2 separate regions of the Homo sapiens genome follow, and region 1 is linked to region 2. The links are contacts of gene promoters, found by promoter capture Hi-C in human tissues and cell types (Jung and others, 2019). All regions are on one chromosome and are shown on one strand. The core of a region is centred on a gene start or on the middle of the fragment in contact, and the rest is flanking DNA. Distances in the headings are between cores, read along the strand shown.

Evidence for each region. The method cuts DNA at HindIII sites, captures the fragments that hold promoters and counts their contacts. A contact is called where the count stands out against the background at its distance.
Region 1: a fragment that was not itself captured here is called in contact with the fragment with the promoter of METTL3 in region 2 in 1 of the 25 tissues and cell types used here (aorta).

Annotation. Positions count from the first base shown.
Region 1 is chr14:21,074,346-21,077,065 of GRCh38, forward strand. It overlaps ARHGEF40 (Rho guanine nucleotide exchange factor 40), which reads left to right. Exons shown (of 24, transcript NM_018071.5): 3 at 1-835; 4 at 987-1,154; 5 at 1,300-1,420; 6 at 2,015-2,111; 7 at 2,218-2,298; 8 at 2,429-2,545. Among named protein-coding and RNA genes, the nearest start is that of ARHGEF40, 5.4 kb to the left of the region's middle. The HindIII fragment of the contact is 3,154 bases long and covers 1-2,720 here.
Region 2 is chr14:21,510,030-21,512,729 of GRCh38, forward strand. METTL3 (methyltransferase 3, N6-adenosine-methyltransferase complex catalytic subunit) reads right to left here and starts at 1,311. Exons shown (of 11, transcript NM_019852.5): 1 at 1,095-1,311. The coding sequence starts at 1,194. RefSeq lists an enhancer at 1,354-1,593. The HindIII fragment of the contact is 21,601 bases long and covers 1-2,700 here.

The sequences.
Region 1 (2,720 bases), core at 173-2,672, 440 kb before region 2:
CCCTCTGGACCTCCAGGGCTTCCCAGCCCTCCACTTCCTGAGGAGGCGCTGGGTACCCGGAGTCCTGGGGATGGGCACAATGCCCCTGTGGAAGGACCTGAGGGCGAGTATGTGGAGCTGTTAGAGGTGACGCTGCCCGTGAGGGGGAGCCCAACAGATGCTGAAGGCTCCCCAGGCCTCTCCAGAGTCCGGACGGTACCCACCCGCAAGGGCGCTGGAGGGAAGGGCCGCCACCGGAGACACCGGGCGTGGATGCACCAGAAGGGCCTGGGGCCTCGGGGCCAGGATGGAGCACGCCCACCCGGCGAGGGGAGCAGCACCGGAGCCTCCCCTGAGTCTCCCCCAGGAGCTGAGGCTGTCCCAGAGGCAGCAGTCTTGGAGGTGTCTGAGCCCCCAGCAGAGGCTGTGGGAGAAGCCTCCGGATCTTGCCCCCTGAGGCCAGGGGAGCTTAGAGGAGGAGGAGGAGGAGGCCAGGGGGCTGAAGGACCACCTGGTACCCCTCGGAGAACAGGCAAAGGAAACAGAAGAAAGAAGCGAGCTGCAGGTCGAGGGGCTCTTAGCCGAGGAGGGGACAGTGCCCCACTGAGCCCTGGGGACAAGGAAGATGCCAGCCACCAAGAAGCCCTTGGCAATCTGCCCTCACCAAGTGAGCACAAGCTTCCAGAATGCCACCTGGTTAAGGAGGAATATGAAGGCTCAGGGAAGCCAGAATCTGAGCCAAAAGAGCTCAAAACAGCAGGCGAGAAAGAGCCTCAGCTCTCTGAAGCCTGTGGGCCTACAGAAGAGGGGGCCGGAGAGAGAGAGCTGGAGGGGCCAGGCCTGCTGTGTATGGCAGGTGAGATGACACGGAGTGAGGCTCATGGGGCAAGGGCCAAAGCAGGTCGGGCCTATGGGAGGGGGCAGGAGGAGGAGCAGGGTTAGGCTGGGAGCAGAACAACCAGAACCATCTTAACTTCAGTCCCATGTTTCTGTCTGTGTCTGTGCAGGACACACAGGCCCAGAAGGCCCCCTGTCTGACACTCCAACACCTCCGCTGGAGACTGTGCAGGAAGGAAAAGGGGACAACATTCCAGAAGAGGCCCTTGCAGTCTCCGTCTCTGATCACCCTGATGTAGCTTGGGACTTGATGGCATCTGGATTCCTCATCCTGACGGGTCAGTGGGCATCAGTGGGTGAAGGGAAACAGGACTGGGAAAGAGAAGCAATTGGGTGGGCTTGGGGACTGGGGGAGGCAGGGTGGAAAGGAGGTAGGCATGGACTGCTCCCAGCCAGGACAGCCTGGCCATTTTGTGTCTTCAGGAGGGGTGGACCAGAGTGGGCGAGCTCTGCTGACCATTACCCCACCGTGCCCTCCTGAGGAGCCCCCACCCTCCCGAGACACGCTGAACACAACTCTTCATTACCTCCACTCACTGCTCAGGTAACCGAGGCCCAGTCCTGGCACCCTGGACACTAACCTCCTGATTCATGAGGACCCTCACCTCCTTCTTCTCAGGACACTGACCTTCTGACCTCTAAGGACACCTACTTCTTCAACCTTCAGACTTCAAGCCATTGACCTTTGGCCTTACTTACCCTGACCTCCAGCTTCATATCTTCACTGATCTTCAAAAGCAACACTGTTGACTTTCACTCTCTTCCAACCCTACCAAGATCATCAGGACATTGGTTCACTGATTCAACAAACATTTATTGAGCACTGAGTACCTATTAGGCACCATACTACAGGCTGATATTGAATGCACGCCATTTCAGAACAGAATTCTTAATTTTCCAGACCTTAATCCCTTGACCTAGTAGCCATATGAATATAGACCCCTGACTGCTAGGTGACTTCCTCTTGTACACACACCCCAGAATTTGGCCCTTTGCCCATTTCTTCCCAAATGTACCGGCAACTAATTTCTCCTCAGGACTATTAACTAAAAACAGACCCCGTATGTCTGCCTTGCCTTATCTGCTATCCCCCAAAACACACACACAGCAGCCTCCTTGGCTCTTCCTGCTCCCGCAGGCCTGATCTACAGACACTGGGGCTGTCCGTCCTGCTGGACCTTCGTCAGGCACCTCCACTGCCTCCAGCACTCATTCCTGCCTTGAGCCAACTTCAGGTAACCACCCCTCAAACAGGCAGTTCCCCTGGATCCTAACTCTTCACCAGTGGCCAGTCCAGGACACCCGATTGCCCAGTTTAGGGTTATTCTTTTCTGCCCTTAGGACTCAGGAGATCCTCCCCTTGTTCAGCGGCTGCTGATTCTCATTCATGATGACCTTCCAACTGAACTCTGTGGATTTCAGGTTTGAGCCCTTCATTCCCATCTAGTTTCCCATCAGTAGTGGGGAGAGGAGAAGAGGCTGGCTGGAGCCCCAGGCTGGTTTCTGAGTCCTTGGGTGCCCAGGAAGAAACCCCCTGCCTTACCCTCTACAGGGTGCTGAGGTGCTGTCAGAGAATGATCTGAAAAGAGTGGCCAAGCCAGAGGAGCTGCAGTGGGAGTTAGGAGGTCACAGGGACCCCTCTCCCAGTCACTGGGTAGAGATACACCAGGTAAGCTTCCCCTCTACCACCTAGCATGCTGGGAGCCAGGAATAACCCAGCTGAAGACATTCTAGGAGAGAGGCCATGTCCAGGACATACCATGAGGTTGCAAAAAAGTGGTTTCCATTCCATTCAATTCAACAAGTATTTATGGCTCCCAAATCATGAGGAAAACATGTGCACT
Region 2 (2,700 bases), core at 61-2,560:
GCTTCACTACCTACACCAGCTCTTGTTACTTCTCTTCATTGTACAGACTGTAGATTCATTCATTTGGTTTCGTACATATATCTTATCATATTCCTCACTTTTTGTAAGCGTCTCCCCTTGAATCCTATGCTTTTTAAACTTCTTGAGGACAGGGGCAATTTCTTCCTTATTTTTGTCTAATTAGACCCATGAACACTGTAGATACTCAAGAAAGGTAATTAATTAGGTGGGAGGATCCTGCCAGTGCATCTTCTATTTCTAGGGGCCAGAATACGAGCACATGAACCTAACATGATCTAGACAAGATTTAGAGATGCAGTTGAAGATACTGACAAATATTGGAACAATCTACCACAAAGGTGATACTGAGTCACTATTTTTGCAGAGCTTTGTTACTAGTTTGCCTTAAATAATTCAGAGTTTGTCCTGAGGGTAGGGAGTGGATAACAGTGAATTTAATCTTTTAAATTTCCTTCAAGTTTTATGATCGTGACACGGGGGCAACAGGAGAAGAGAAAAAGTTTGGAAACCAAACACAAATGTTTTCAGATTCCTGCTAGGTATGTAAATGGCTAAGTCAATGCCGGTAGGGGTACTCATTCAGAAACACCCAGTGCCACTCTGTACGGGCCACTAAATTGGGCACTGCGGATATAAAGGTTCATTCCTCGCTTACTGTACCCACAGCTGCCAAGAAATGACCACTACAAAACAGTCGTTATAACTGAGGGAACAAAGCGCCAAAGCAGCAACAAAAAGGGGTTCTTGCTGCTTCGCGGGATAGGGGGCTGAGCAGCCTCACAAAGGCGACGTCCTCGCAGTCTGAAGAGGAGTGGGCAAGGCGGACGAGGGTGGGGCTCAAGCGTCCGTCCGGTAAAAGTGAGCTGGAAGAACCGAGGCCCAGCGTGAGGAGGAACCGCGAACTACTTGCAGAAGGGCGAACGTCTGCTGCTGAAGGTGGAGAGGGAGTACCAATGTACGAGGCTTTATAGAAATGGCCGTTTGGTAAAGGGCAGTGACTCTGGAGCTTTTTCTCTAGGGATCCCGCCCGTCCTCCCCGGTTGAGCCTCGGCCCCAACAGCCCAGTGCCTCACCCAAGTGCCCCGAGTCCTGCTTCCGCCTCCGCTGCAGCCTCTCCCGCAGAGAGTCCAGCTGCTTCTTGTGGGCCTGGATAGAGCTCCACGTGTCCGACATCCTAGTCTCCCAGCCCTGACACCTCTCGAATAAGGCGCGGCGGACTAGCACCTCCCAGCACTCGCTCCAGGATATAGCCAATTCTCACGCGGACACCCCGAAGGCTAACCGGAAAATGACCCCTGGAGCTGAGCAAGACAGAAAAGTCATTTCCGGTGTCGCGCTTTCTTGGAAGCTATAAAGAGCCACGTTAGGTGTTGGCAGAGCGGCCGGTATAGTCCTCATACCCGCTCTCTCATGCTTCCGGACACAGTGAGGCTGTGGTTGCCATGTTGGTGACTGGCAGAGCGGCCATGTTGCTTATAGACGCGCATGCGGCCATGTTGAATATTCGGAGAGGAGTCCTGAGAGTTGACTTGTGTTAAAGTAGCACTCGTAGAGAGCAACACCATATAGTACAGTTTTGGGGGTTTTTTTCTTTTTTTTTTTTTTGAGACGGAGTTTCACTCTGTCGCCCTGGCTGGAGTGCAATGGCGCGATCTCGGCTCACAGCAACCTCCACCTCCCGGGTTCAAGTGATTATCCTGCCGCAGCCTCCCGAGTAGCTGGTATTACAGGCGCCCGCCACCACGCCCGGCAGATTTTTTGTATTTTTAGTAGAGACGGGGTTTCACTGTGTTGGCCAGGCCAGTCTCGAACTCCTCACCTCGTGATCCGCCCTCCTTGGCCTCCCAAAGTGCTAGGATTACAGGCGTGAGCCACCACACCCGGCCATAGTACAGATTTTTAAGATGAAGGATCACTAGTTCCTTTTGACAGTTTGGTACTAACATACCTTTTCCACTGAAGGTGGTGTTGGTTTGTTTCCATGCGTTCATTTACAAAAAAATAAAAAACACAACGGTGGTCCCCAATCTGAGGTGAGGAGGGGGCGGTGGTGGGTGCGGGCATGCTTCTTTGTGTTGACGAGGCGTGGGGAAGTGGGGAGGGCTGATGAAGGAAAAATCCGAGAGGTCTTCAAATACGTGATCTCTCTCTTAGGCTAAATTTACAAAGTACGTGTAATCTATTAAAATCGGGTTCCGACACTAAGAGGGCTTTGAGGTCCTGGTTGCGTTGTGTTTTTTGTTATGAGAGCTACCTGCATGAGTGTGTTCAGTTTGTGAAATGTAATTGAGCTGAACATTTTGGTGTGCACTTTTCTGTATGTGTAGTAAACTTAAATACAAGGTTGGTGGTGGTGGTTTTTCCTACAATCCTTTCTTTCTTTCTTTTTTTGACACATTTTCTTTTTTTTTTTTTTTTGAGATGGAGTCTCACTCACTCTGTCACCCAGGCTGGAGTGCAATGGCGTGGTCTCAGCTCACTGCAACCTCCGCCTCCTGGGTTCAAGCGATTCTCCTGCCTCAGCCTCCCGAATAGCTGGGATTACAGGCGCGTGCCACCACACCTGGCTAATTTTTTTTATTTTTAGTAGAGACAGGGTTTCACTATGTTGGCCAGGCTGGTCTCGAACTCCTGACCTCGTGATCTGCCCCTACGATCTGCCCCCCTGCCTCAGCCTCC